Regions from separate parts of the Homo sapiens genome. Here region 2 is linked to region 1. The links are contacts of gene promoters, found by promoter capture Hi-C in human tissues and cell types (Jung and others, 2019). All regions are on one chromosome and are shown on one strand. The core of a region is centred on a gene start or on the middle of the fragment in contact, and the rest is flanking DNA. Distances in the headings are between cores, read along the strand shown. Region 1 holds the start of DKK1 (dickkopf Wnt signaling pathway inhibitor 1). Region 2 overlaps LOC105378305 (a long non-coding RNA gene).

Region 1 (7,600 bases), core at 4,543-7,042:
GTTCATCATCTCCCTTGCTAAAGACTAAGTTCTTTGAAGTTAAAGGCCAATATTATATGCATCTTTTCAAATGCTAGCATAGTGCCCACTGGATGTGGCAGACTAAATAAAGGTATATGGAATTAAAATTTCTTAGCATTACCTAGATTGTAGTCCTAGATTTTTGATGTGATTAACTATTTCTAAGCTGTCAACCCTTACACTCAATATATAAAGGACCACATACGTACACACACTTTTGTACAAACATTGAATGCTTAAATTACGAGATTATTTTCTTCTTCTTTAAGGTAAAGATAAGGTATTTCTTTTATATTTTAATATTGTCCTCAGAATAGTATTTTAGAAGGTATGAAAATTGCAATCATAGAACTCAGTGGAAGACACTTTATAAGCCTAATGGTAGTATTGTCTATTTTTCTCTAAGACCGTAAAAGAAAGTTGGTAGTATGATAAAGTTTGATAATGTCACCAATTTAAAAGTGAAGGGCCAGGCTCATTCTTATCAGTAGATTAGACAAAGTTTGAAATATTCAACTCTTCTAGCAAAACAAGAAAAGGGAGTGGTGAGAAAAGGCTTGTGATTTTATTTAATAATAATTTCAAAATCAAAGTAATTAGAACAAGTCTAGCTTTAACTGAATGCCAGAGATTACTGTTCACTGTGAAATTGTTAGGATAAGCCTGTATTTCCCTTTTTCTCCTTTGATACAGTTTAGCAAGAGCTTAATCATCACTTGGTCGGTGATAAGCAAGCATCTTGACATTTTGCTCATACCAGAATTTATGAGTAGCTACAGAAAGCATGCGTTTTGTACTTTGCTTCAAATATGAGTCATCCTATAACTATACTAGTACATGAACATAAAAATTCTATACTCATGACACATTATTTGTTAGATCAAAAAATCTGGAAACAACTTAAACGTCACTGGTTAAAACAATTATAGTATTGCCATTCTGACATACTACAAACTTAATGTAACCTTTAAAAAGAATGAGTCACCTCTCTATGTATTATATAAAATGATCTGCAAGACGCATAGAGTAAAAAAAGCAAGGTGCAGGACAGCGTGTAGAGTATACTAACATTCGATAAAATATCTTGTGAAATTTTCCCAGATGCATGTATTTTCCGTTAAAATACATTGTTTAAAAGTCACACAGCAACAACAACAGACATTTTAAACAATCATTACCCAAATTGTTCTAGATTCCTTAAATAATCCTCTTTTGAATTTGTATTTTATCTGATTTCCATCGTCTAGCCTCTATTACTAGCTAATAAAAACCTACAATTTTCTTGGTATTTTCCACCTTTATAAATATGAAGAATTCTTTTTAACAGAAATCCCTTCCTAATTTCTCAGCTGGATAGGAAGAAGAGGCATCCCTCTGGTTGGTTTTGTATTCTTCCACACATCTCTCATCTGGAGATGAGAAGCAAGAAAGGCTGTCACTAGGGTCAATGTACTGAGGTCCGTTCCTGTAGAAAGGAAGGGATCCAATAACCAAAGCCCTTTAAAAGTTTGCTTCTTTCCCCACTTAAGCAGAAGGCTCTTCTTTCTTCTTTTTGGAGAAAAAGTTTCCTGTTTCCTTTCCTTTATTGTGCTTTATTGGACATGGCAGGCCTTAGAATTGGCCTTTCTGGCACTTCAGAAAACAAGCGCATGTAGAAAAAGAAAGTTTCTCCTGGGTGAGGAAGCTGAGACTTCCAGACAAAAGGAATGTAACAGCAGACATCCTGCCAGTTCCTCTTTCAGTGAAGAACCAACCAAAGCTTGTGTCCCACTGGTTGAGACCCTTGAAATTGAACCACTTCCAGAAACACAAAAACAACAAACGGTCTAGTACATCTGCGTTATTTAAGGAAATATTTGCACGATTGATCAGTCACTACTATCCTTTGCAGGCCTGAAATGCAGCATTTTGTGGTTTGGGTGCAGACTTTAGAATACTACAGAAAAAGTATAAATTGGGAAGTTTGCTTTCCCTTTTCCTCAGTATAAACAATATGAAATCTGGCAAGTACAAATGCAAAGAAAATTTAGATTTTATTCCTGTGGGTTTTCTTTAAAATACTGTATCCGTATCCTCATTCCAATCAATAGATTTCAGGTTAAACAAAACTTGAAATATGAAACTCACCTAGCAAGAGAAAAAAAGAGTGGAATGAGGAAGGATTTGTGATTTTTAATTAATAATTATTTTAAAACCAAAATAATTAGAACAAGTCTGCTTTGCATGCAGTAGTACTCAAGATACTGCAAATTATTTTGTTTGGTACAAAATCTGCATGTATTTGTTAACTGTATTTATGGGCACACATCCTGTTCCTGCCAATCACCAAGTACTTTGGAGTATTATTTTTGTGGATGATTTTCTTCCTTGTCCGAAAAATATTGACCATTTAGGTAGGTATTATTAATTTATTGGAAACTATTTTTGAAAGTAGTAATGTAAGATTCACTCTCATTCTGCCATGATCATTTGAGTTTATCAATGCAGAACACGTCTTTCTTTAAAGTTATTCTAGAGCTGATCAATATTGTCTTATATTTAGACACTGTCTTTTCTCTGATCATCTTTAAACATATCACACTTCCGTTCTTGTAGAACACACACATACGTACACACACACAAACCTCTAAGATCACAATCCCAAAATGTATGTCTACTTATAACATTTCATGATATTAAATGTTAAATTTTATTTCAAAAACTATCACAGCCTAAAGGGAAATATAATTTAAGCATTAAGATAGTACATTTCAGAAAATAAGCTAGTATTTTCATGTTACATTTTAGGTACCTATCATTTGTCATTCCAAGAGATCCTTGCGTTCTAGACTCTAGAATTAAATGGGGTAAAGGGTTATGCTTTTAAGAACTATAAGCTGAAATGATTTACTTCAGTTCAATATAGAATATTTGTCAGTCAAGATAACAATCAATGTGTACAAAAATTTACATAACAAGAGGAAAAATAGGCAGTGCAGCACCTTTAGAAAAATAATTAAAAGTTTCATTGCATTTACAGGTAAGTGCCACACTGAGAATTTACAATACAGTAATTTACTGCAATCACAGGGGAGTTCCATAAAGAAACAAAGCTCTTACACTCCAGGTTTTTGGAAGGTGTTATTGGAATGCTTAACTGAAACCACAGAACTTGTATATCCTTAGGATTGAGTTGATGAAGGTCATAAAAGGTTTTCATAGCATCTATTATATAAAAGGAGTTCACTGCATTTGGATAGCTGGTTTAGTGTCTCTGACAAGTGTGAAGCCTAGAAGAATTACTGGCTTGATGGTGATCTTTCTGTATCCGGCAAGACAGACCTTCTCCACAGTAACAACGCTGGAATATTTCTAGTCCATGAGAGCCTTTTCTCCTATGCTTGGTACACACTTGACCTTCTTTCAGGACAGGTTTACAGATCTTGGACCAGAAGTGTCTAGCACAACACAATCCTGAGGCACAGTCTGATGACCGGAGACAAACAGAACCTTCTTGTCCTACGAAGGAGAAGACAGTAGGAAAAAAGTACATAGTTACTGTTAAACCTGCATCGTTTCACTAAAATAATTCAAAAGACACTTCTGATGTGCTAAGAATGAGTCTTAACATCCTTACCTTTGGTGTGATACATTTTTGAAGACAAGGTGGTTCTTCTGGAATACCCATCCAAGGTGCTATGATCATTACCAAAGCTTTCAGTGATGGTTTCCTCAATTTCTCCTCGGAAATGATTTTGATCAGAAGACACACATATTCCTAAGGAAGCAGGAAATAGTGATTAACTTCAGGGTTGTAATGCATTACTGCTAACAGCTGTGACAGTGGCAGTCTGTTATGCCAGCATCAACTTGAGATACTTCATTGCAGTGACATCATTTTAAACACAAGCCAAACTTCCTCTTTACTGTTAATGCAAAACTCTCCAGATGGACAGAAGCACCAATGTGTATACTGTATACAGTCAGTCATAGGTAATATCCCCAGTATAGCCATTTAAAATACTTTCCCACCAACTGTGGTAGGGGCAAGTGAGATTTCTGCCCATTTTAATATTACCTTTGGGGTAAGAAAAAGAAACTCAGTCACTTTAAAAATGTTCTTAAAAATAACTTCTCTGCCCCTGGTGCTATATGGGTCCTACCAGACTAAGTTAAGCAAATGCAATTCCAGCTGCCTGGAACATTGCAATCTCACCGGCCAGTTACTTTACTGTGTAATTTCTATATTACAGAGATTTACTTAGTTCATCCTGGAGTACTGCTGGGTCCTAAGGAGGGTCGTCGCCCTGTTAGCTTATTTCTGGAGACCTCTTTAGCTGTCTAAATCCACCTTTTGAAAAATTAAAAGTTAGTGGATCTGTGGTTGGGGGGAGGAGTACTTATATTAAGGCAGCAGAGGGTAGAGGGAGGGGGAAGGATGGAGAAGTCAAGTTGTGAGGGTACCAAGATCTCTCTTAAAAATGGCCAATGCAGATAAATCAGTCCTCTGGCTGACAACAGTTTCAGCAAAAATCAGAAGGCGAGGCCAGTCTGGCAAAACTGTGAGAATCACAATAAGAAAAATGAAAAGGACAGCTGAACGCCAAAGCTGGTTTCTTTGATATCTGTATGATCCCATCGTCCTCCTCATCATCCCCCTTCTCAATTGACCTCAAGGTTCTCCCCAGACAAATTTTTATGGAAGAGTCCACTACGAGGTGAACCGTTGTATTGAATCATTGAGGGACACGGAGGAAGATAAGGACCTCAGAGACCTCCCAACTTCTCTCTTCTTCCCGATTAAACACTTGCAATGAAGATACTTCAGCGGAATCCTGCATGCTGAACACCCATTTGCAGGTGGCGCCGCAGTGTTCTCAGGGCGGAGATTTCTCCCCCCACCCCCCCCAACCCCCCGCCCCCGCCCAATTCATAGACGCTCAAAGGCTGGACAGTTTTAGTGTGAAAGGGAGCTTTCAGGACTCACCATTTTTGCAGTAATTCCCGGGGCAGCACATAGCGTGACGCATGCAGCGTTTTCGGCGCTTCCTGCAGGCGAGACAGATTTGCACGCCTGCGTCCCCTCCGCGGGTGGGACTAGCGCAGTACTCATCAGTGCCGCACTCCTCGTCCTCTGCGCACGGGTACGGCTGTGGGAAGGGTTCGGGGAGAGGGTGAGGCACCCAGACGTCCAGGTACCCGCCCTCTTGGACCCGGGCGCTGATCACAGTCCTTATCTGTCCACCTCTCCAAAACCTGTTACTGCCCACTGCTCCCAAATGCAGGGTTACCAAATGCTCCCTGAACCGCACACATTCAGCACGTTCTACTCCCTCGTCTCCAGATAGGACCCTTTCAAGGTCAGAGCATCCTCTGAGTGCCCGACCCCTCTCACCTGGTAGTTGTCAATGGTCTGGTACTTATTCCCGCCCGGGTACAGGATTCCCGGCGCGGCGCTGACTGCAGAGCCTGGGTGCCCCGCAGCGCCGCCCAGCGGTGGGGGCAGGTTCTTGATAGCGTTGGAATTGAGAACCGAGTTCAAGGTGGCGCTCACTCCCAGCAGAGGGTGGCCGCCGAGAGCCGCCGCTACCATCGCGACAAAGACCCGGGTAGCTCCCGCTGCGCCCAGAGCCATCATCTCAGAAGGACTCAAGAGGGAGAAAGAAAGAGAAAATGACCGTCACTTTGCAAGCCTGGGTCCCCACGAAACCGTGCCGGTTCGGCTGCAGAGTCAGGGTCCGGGAGCCCCCTGCGGTCCCAGAGTCCTGACTGCAGGGAGCACAGAGCTCTGCGCCGCCACCGCCACCGCGGCTGCCTTTATACCGCGGGCCCGGAGCATTCCGGCCCCTTGGGAGGGAGACAACAAAGCCGGGATGGGATTTCAAAGCGCTGGGAGGGGCTGGGAGGGGGTGTGTTTGTGTACATGAAGGGGGGCCTTTGACACTCTTCACCCCGCCCCTCCCTTGCTTAGTCGCTCGGCTGGCCCGGCTCACCTTCGGGGTGAAGGCTACCAGCGAGCGTTATAGCAGACGACTTTAATAAATGCAGGCGGCAGCAGGAACTCTGGGAACTTGGGTGCCCTTGCCTGGCAGTAAGGGTTGAATTATCCGGATCTGAAATACTTTACAGAGCCGAGGGGTGATAGGCTCTGCAAAAGCACTTTTTGCCCCTCTCCTTTATGCCAATACTCGCTGACTGTGCACACAAGTCATATTCAGTATTAAATACAAACCGGTCTGTAATTCAATGGCTCTAGCAAGACGCCTCTGAGAGGGCCAGGTGGCGGGTGCAAGTTGCTCATTAACCCTTTAGAGTCGCAGTTTGCAGATCTGAGTTAGATCCCCGGCTTTGAGGTCCTTCAGTTGCCCTCCTCCCCCACCTCCCCCCGCCACTGCGAGAAAAATGTGCAAAGAGAAGGAAATTTGCACATCAAACGAGGGTAAGAAGGAAGAAGAGCTAATTCTCTTTTGATGGGAAGTTTAGAGAGGGAGGCGAGAGACTGGCGTTTAGAAATTAGATCAGGGGTGGAGGGAAGAGGGAAATGACCATCCGATAATCAAACCATTTAATGTTGTTCTTTGAATCAGGGCAATCGCGGCGGTAGATGAACTTGATTAGGCAGACGCGTGAGATCAAAGTGGCCGGGACCAAAGCGGACAGGGTCCAACGTGCCAGGTCAGTCGCCTTTCCCCGGTTCTCCCTTCTCAGTGGTGGGCTAATGTGGAGAAATAAGAAACCCTTAGGGCTTAGCGCCTGACTTCCTCATTAGTATATCACATCGCAACGCTTCCGAATGCAGGGTTTGCTCCCAAGTCTTACCTTGCACGGGACCACGCAATACCCTTTCTAGGGAGAAAAGAAACAACCTTGAGGAGAAGAAGAGCTGAAAGTGAATTAGAAAGTGAATTTGACGTCATTGAAATTGGTGTGTGGATATAATAAAGTAAGGCTGGTGTATAAGAATGATGTCATGCTTATAAATGGGAAATGATCTATTTAATTCAACAAAAACTTATTGGAAGCCTAGAGCCCTGGCATTGGGCTGCCCTCTGGGTTGTTACCTTATTTTTATTTTTTAAATTTTTTGGTGAGATGGGTGGTGGGGGGAGGGGCACAGTGAATACAAATATTTATGAGACACAGCTCTCATTTTAAATAATAAAGTTCTCTTTATTCTAATTACAGTAATAATAAAAGATGTAGTAACAATAAAATTATAGCAATAAATATAAAAGCATACATAATTCTTTTAAAAACAGGTTGATATTATAAGTGTCAGAAAATAAGCAACTGTTTTGTGAGTTTGGAAAAGGGAGAGATGATTGAATAATCACTATTGAATTAAAAAAGAGTAAGATATATTTATTTTGTCTTCCTCTAAGCTGTATAGATTTAGGCTGTCTATAATGACTCCACATGCTGACCTACTATAGTCAGAACTGGGGCCACCACCAAGTAAAGCCAGTGACAATCTTAAAGTAAAAAAATCCTAAAGTTTACTGGGAGAAGGAGTAATTAAAACACAATTTACTATGGTCTGTGTTCTAGTTCCTTCAGTTTCAAAGGTAATATTAAGAAGATCATCTAAACAATTCTTGAA
Region 2 (7,090 bases), core at 2,119-4,618, 400 kb before region 1:
TGGTATCCTCAAAATTGATGCTGATGATTATAGATTTACCAACTTGTGTTTTATCTCCAGCTCCCTAACACAGATTTCTTATACGTTTTCTTCTTCTCTTTTTATTTCTTTTATGTAGTAATTTGTTAAGAGAAATTTGCATTATCTCTATCATTCATCACCATGTGCAATATATTCAAGCTTCATTATAGTACTAAATGTATTTTACGTAGGTTTCTTTAAACTTTTATTTTAGGTTCAGGGGTACAATTGCAGGTTTGCTATACAGGAAATTACATGTCATGGGAGTTTGGTGTGCAAATTATTTCATCACCCAGGTAATAAGCATAGTACCCGAAAGGTATCTTTTTGATCCTCACATTCCTCCTAGCCTCCACCCTCAAGTAGGGCCAGATGTCTGTTGTTCCTTCTTTATGTCTGTATGTACTTAATGTTTACTTCCCATTATAAGTGAGAACATAAGTATTTGGTTTTCTGTTCCTGTGTTAGTTCGCTTAGGATAATAACCTCTAGCTCCATCCATGTTGCTGCAGAGAACATGACCTTGTTCGTTGTTAGGTTTTTGTTTTAAAATAAAGCTACTTATTAAGACATTTTTCAGACATTAAGTTAAAGGTACATCCAATGACTTTATGCTCTAGACAGGCTAGTTGGAACAGACGATTTGAAGCAATTTGGTATTCAGATCACATCATGAAGGAAGGGCAGGTTTTATAGAAGCAAAAATACTAGAAGTCCATAGGGCTAGAAAGAAAAAAAATCATACTTAGGAGTTATTTTGATAAAATATGTATGAAAAACCTTATGGTCAGAAGCAGCTAGAAAACTGTTAGAGCTTTTAAAATTCTGATTTATTGCCAGGAAATCTTATTGAGGTACTACCCAATTCAAGTAAAAGAATTTGAAGCCAGAGATTTGAATGTTGAAAACAATTATGAGGATATTAAGATTGAGAAAGAGAGTGAAGAAGAAAGAGCAAAAAGGAAAGAAGCAGACGGAGTAGCTGATTAAATTAGGACTCAGATGATGAACCCCTTGCAAAGTAGGACCATGTCTATGTACCTCTTACATAACCTACCAATATTCAATAGATCATGTTTTTGCAAAATGCTTATCAAACTGCCTTACTGTTTTCTGCTATTACAGTGTTTTGGGGGTTCACCTCTTCAGGGTAACCATAGTTTTGCCTTTTTCACTCTCTCAACGTATTTATTTCTCCCATCCTTATAAATTGACCACTTTTCAATCTTAGGTTTTAAAATGGCTGACTAGAGAAATATTGTCACTAATATAATTAATCAGTATAAATCAGACAGCCTTATATGACTAAAAAACCATACAACTTGACTTGCTGAAGCCAAAATGGCAAATTCGTCTATCTCTGAAGTCTGAAGAAAGACTGGACCACTGAACACCAGGAAGAATGTGCATCATCTGGGGCTGGGATCACCTGAAACCAGGCACTTCAGTGCTCCAGGATTCATTCTCCATTTTTCCCCTCAGGAGATATTTGGAAATAGTGATATCCATTTGTATCAATTATGTATGATTATTCCAATTTACTAATGAAGAATTTAAGGCAAGAGGTTTAAGTAAATTGCCAAGGTCATACAACTAGTGAGTAACAGACACAGACTAGAAGCAAGACTATCCTGACTCTAGAAACTGAACATTACCCCTCTACCTCTCTGATCGTGGCTACTCAGCTATTTCCTATTTTGCCAGTACATAAGTTATTAACGCTAGTCATAACTGAATACATTGATATAAATTTGTTAGTTATTATTGTTGTGTTTAAATAGAAATTGGTAAAAATTAGTTGACAGCTTAATGAACTTCCATGCCTTAGATATTTTTTATCTTTTTTTTTTTTTTTTTGAGATGGCGTCTCACTCTGTCACCCAGGCTAGTGTGCAGTGGTGCGATCTTGGCTCACTGCAAGCTCTGCCTCCTGGGTTCACGCCATTCTCCTGCCCCAGCCTCCCGAGTAGCTGGGACTACAGGGGCACGCCACCACGCCCGGCTAAAATCTTTTTAAAAAATAGATAAATTGCATTGAAACCCAACATCTGAAATGGAAAATAAAAATCAGTCATTGTCAATACTATATACTAAATGCTATTTATCTTTATTTACTTGCTAGAAAAAGTAATCTTGCATTACCAATATGGACTTGCAGCTAAAAATTCAGAAAATAAAATATTTAGGGGACTTTTTACAACAACAGTGACACCAATGACAACAACAAATTTCTGCTGATCTTACCCAATGTTCCATAATATTATTCTGGTAACTTCACTGTTATAGTAGAATTGGCAACACCCTAACAGTATTAACCTCCATTATTATAGCAACATAAAATATAACTTTTAAATGTTTTGAAATTAATTTTTTAAAACCTTGTCTTATTATTTATCACTAATTTGGCATACTGTAAGAGTCATTAATCTAAAAGGAAATTTTGGGTTGTCTTTTACCATTATCATTGTGTACTTTCATCAATAATACTCATTAAGTGTATAAGCTGACCTTCATTTACATTTAAATGTATTTTTATTTATAGGATTTTCCAATCTTACTGAGAACTAAGTTAACATAATGTCCTTCCTTCATGATATACAAATATATCCCAGAAAAGCATTTGTAATATACTTTGTATTTGTATTACTGAAAAGTTAGTAACATTTTCTTCTCTAGTTTTTTGTGACTCTTTAAAAATATACGCTTGTTATAGTATGTGACAGATGTTAATAGAATTTTCCAAAGGTATTTTCTATAAACTTTACACCTATTATTATGATGTAACAACTGAAAGTCATGATATCATTTAAGAAATCAAGTTTGAAGAACTAAAAAATAAATTTTAAGAGACTCTTGCGTCAAGAAAGATAGAGTTGAAGTATTTTTCCTCTATTCTTCCTGGTAAATACAAGTAAGAATCCTGGACATTATATATAAAACAAACATAAGAAGACTCTGCAAGATGGAGAAAAAAGGATCAACTAGCTAAATGTTTTAGAATCTAAGCAAGAATACAACAATAAGTTTTTAAAGTTTTCTTGTCATCTCACATATTCCAGACTGGGCACTGGAGAAGATGGCCACCTGGAAAACAAACTGGTACAAAGAAAAAGTGCCCCAGGAGAAGCTGGATGCCTTGATCCAAAGGTCTAGGAGAGGAGATGTCTAGCAAGACAGAAACTTTTAGTAACTGCTCTTCTCCAACCAAACATCACAAAAAAAAAAAACAGGGGCCCTACTCCCAACTCCAAACAACCAAGACTGAGTGTAAATGTAGCTTTTACCCTCTCTAGGCACAATGAGATACTCCAACCTCCCCGCCAGAGTGGTGTCAGAGAAGATTCAGTAGATATCCAGGACTTTTACATCCACAGGGAAAGAACAAGCCCACACATGCAAGGATGTTAAATGAGAAAACTGGACTTCCATTCTTACATTGCAGTAGAAACACCCTGTCCCACTACCAGAGTGGTGTCAAAGGAGAGCTAATAGAGAGTCAGAACTTTCACTATACTCAGCAGTAATAAAGACCATACTACCTCATGGTGTCAGTGGAAGACCCTTGAGAAGTAGTAACAAGGCATCCCTGACCCTCCTAGCCAGGCTGGTATCAGCAGAGGTTAACTGGGATGCCAGAAGTTCCACCTCCATCCAGCAGTAACCAAGAGGCCCTCCTGCAAATGAAGGCTGAGTGAGAAATTTGGATTTCCATCCCACCTGGCAGTGAAAGGCGATGTCTACCTTTCTCTTGCCAGAATGATATCAGAGGAAACCTGCTGAAACAGAACATTGAAAAAAGACACTGAGTCTTATAATAACTTAATTGTCTAGATTTCAATAGAAAAATCACTCCGTATACCAAGAAACAAGACAATTTCAACATGAATGAGAAAGGACAATCAATAGATGCAACATCAAGGTGGCATAGATATTAGAATTATCTAAGAGGGATTTTAAAGCAACCATAATAAAACATTTCAATGAGCAATACAAACATTACTGAAACAAATTTTTTAAAAGAGAAAATGTTGACGAAGAAATAGAAAGTTTCAGCAATCAAAATAAAGAAAAATAGAAGGTATTTAAAAACACAAATAAAAACTTTAAAATGGAAGAATATAATAAAGAAGACTTTAAAAATAAATTCAATGGATGGCCTCAACAATAGAATACAAAGGACAGAAGAAAGACTCATCAGGGAACTTAAGAGTGAAGCAATAGAAATTACCAAATCTGAAGATCAGAGACAAAATAAAAAAACGACAAGAAAGGCCGGGTGCGGTGGCTCACATCTGTAATCCCAGCACTTTGAGAGGCTGAGGCAGGCGGACTACGAGATTCGGAGATTGAGACCATCCTGGCTGACACGGTGAAACCTCGTCTCTACTAAAAATACAAAAAATTAGCCAGGCATGCTGGCAAGCACATGTAGTCCCAGCTACTCAGGAGGCTGAGGCAGGAGAATCGCTTGAACCTGGGAGGCGGAGGTTACAGTGAGCCAAGATTGCGCCACTGCACTCCAGCCTGGGTGACAGAGCGAGACTCCATCTCAAAAACAAAAACAAAATGACAAGAAGAATACCACCTCAGGGACCTGTGAGACTACAACAAAAGGTCTAATAGTACTGTCATCAAAGTCCAAGAAGGAGAGAGAAAGAAAAAAGAGCTGAAAATATATTCAAAGAAATAATGGCTAATAATTCTCAAATTTGGCAAAAGCCATAAACCAACAAATTCAAGAAGCAGAGTGAAAAACTAACAGGGTAAACTCAAAGAAATCACACCAAAGCCACCATCATAGTCAAACTTCTGAACAATAACAACAAAGTAAATATTTTGAAAGCAGGGAGAGAAGAGTGAGATCTTTTCTTTAGGAGGAAAGATAATTAGGATGATAACAGATTTGTCATCACAAACCATGGAGGCCAGAAGAAAGTAGCATAGAATTTTTTAAGTGCTGGAAAAAATAACTATTAATCCAAAAATCTATATCCAGTTAGAACACCCTTACAAATTAAGAGGAAATCAAGACATTTTCATTGAAGCAAAGCTAAGACAATTTGTCACTAGCAAACATATTCTAGAAGAATGGTTAAAGGAAGTTCTCCAAACAGAAGAAAAATAGATATTAGAACATCATGAAGAAAAAAAAAAACAGAAAAAGTAAAAATACATTTCCTTTTCTGTTAAGGTTTCTAAATTTTGTTTAATAGTTGAAGCAATAATTATAATGCTGTTTAATGTGATTCACAATGTATGTAGAGGAAATATGTTAGACAATTATGAGTGGGAGAGGGTAAAGAAAAGTAAGATTTTCATATTTCACTTGAGTTGGTAAAATGTTGATACCAATAGGCTGTGATAAAATATGTATATACAATATCATACCTAAGACATTATAGATAAATCAAAATAAAATTCTAAAAAATGTTCAATTTAATTAACTTACAGAAAGCCATCAAAAACAAAACAGAAAAATGAAAAATAAAACAGAAGAAAAAAATAAAATGCAGATTTAAGGCCTAATATATCTATCCTTCCATTAAGTGTAAATGGTCTAAGTACACCAATTAAAAGATGGAGATTTCCGGGTGTGGTGGCTCACACCTGTAATCCCAGCACTTTGGGAGGCCAAGATGGGCAGATTACAAGGTCAGGAGTTCAAGACCAGCCTGACCAACATGGTGAAACCTGGTCTCTCCTAAAAATACAAAAAAATTATCTGGGCGTGGTGGTGTGTGCCTGTAATCCCAGCTATTCAGGAGGCTGAGGCAGGAGAATTGCTTGAACCCGGGAGGCAGAGGTTGCAGTGAGCCAAGATCACACCACTGCCATCCAATCTAGGCGACAGAGCGAGACTCCATCTAAAAACAAACAAACAAAAAAAGACAGAAGTTAACAGAATGGATTTAAAAACATGATCCAACTATGTGTGGTCTACAGGAAATTCACATCAAATATAAGGATATAAGCAAGTTGAAAGAGAGAGGATGGAAAAGATACACAATGCAAATATTAATCAAAAGATATCGGGAGGGACTAGATTAATAATGTAGACTTCAAAGTAAAGAAATTACCAGAAAGACAGGGACCTTACATAATGATAGAAAGGTCAATCTACCAAGAAGATGTATAGACCTAAATGCACCAAACATCAGAGCTATAATATACATGAAGCAAAACTGATACAACTTGAAGAGGAAATAGACAACTCCACGATTATATTTGTAGACTTCAACATTCATCAATAAACAATTGATAGAACAACTAGACAGAAATCCACAAGAATACAGAAGAACTGGACAATACCATCAACCAATAGGATTTAATTGACATTTACAGAACACCAGAATTGACATGATTTTCAAGCACCCATGAAACATATACCAAGATAGACCACATCTTGGGTCATAAAACCAACATTAACATTTTTAAAAGAATTGAAATTGTACAGAGTGAGTTATATAATTACAATGGAATAAACTAGAAATCAATAACAAGAAGAACAGGAAAATTTTTAAACTCTTGGAAAAAACAAATATTAAGAACTGAGTAAATATATTTATGTCTATTAATATTTGCTATTGCTATATTTTAAAAGATCAAATGTTATACTGTCTCTGGCTAGAATACCAGTTAATTTTTTTAAAAAAGATACTGCATTTATTCCCATATGATAAATGTATTTGTTCAAATTATTACATTAATGAGTAAATTAGATATTTTATATCCAACACCATTTTATATACATATATATATATAATATATATATATATATTGTCTGGGCATGGTGGCTCACATCTGTAATCCCAACACTTTGGGAGGCCGAGGCAGGCAGATCACTTGAGGTCAGGAGTTCGAGACCATTCTGGCCAGCATGATGAAACCCTGTCTCTACTAAAAATACAAAAATTAGCGAGGCATGGTGGCATGTGCCTGTAATCCCAGCTACTTGGAGGCTAAGACAGGAAAAATCACTTGAACCCAGCAGGCGGAGATTACAGTGAGCGGAGATGGCACCACTACGCTCCAGTCTGGGCGACATAGCAAGACTCTGTCTCAAAAAAAA

Evidence for each region. Contacts are between HindIII fragments. The study calls those that stand out against the background at their distance.
Region 2: a fragment that was not itself captured here is called in contact with the fragment with the promoter of DKK1 in region 1 in 1 of the 25 tissues and cell types used here (lymphoblastoid cells).

Annotation. Positions count from the first base shown.
Region 1 is chr10:52,312,473-52,320,072 of GRCh38, reverse strand. It overlaps DKK1 (dickkopf Wnt signaling pathway inhibitor 1), which reads right to left and starts at 5,792. Exons shown (of 4, transcript NM_012242.4): 1 at 5,396-5,792; 2 at 4,988-5,150; 3 at 3,638-3,778; 4 at 2,416-3,519. The coding sequence starts at 5,638. The coding sequence ends at 3,266. PRKG1-AS1 (PRKG1 antisense RNA 1) reads left to right here and starts at 5,945. Exons shown (of 6, transcript NR_038277.1): 1 at 5,945-6,439; 2 at 6,588-6,675. RefSeq lists an enhancer at 610-1,809. The HindIII fragment of the contact is 6,920 bases long and covers 2,748-7,600 here.
Region 2 is chr10:52,710,405-52,717,494 of GRCh38, reverse strand. The region is part of intron 1 of LOC105378305 (a long non-coding RNA gene); the gene reads left to right. Among named protein-coding and RNA genes, the nearest start is that of MBL2, 59 kb to the left of the region's middle. The HindIII fragment of the contact is 8,163 bases long and covers 1-7,090 here.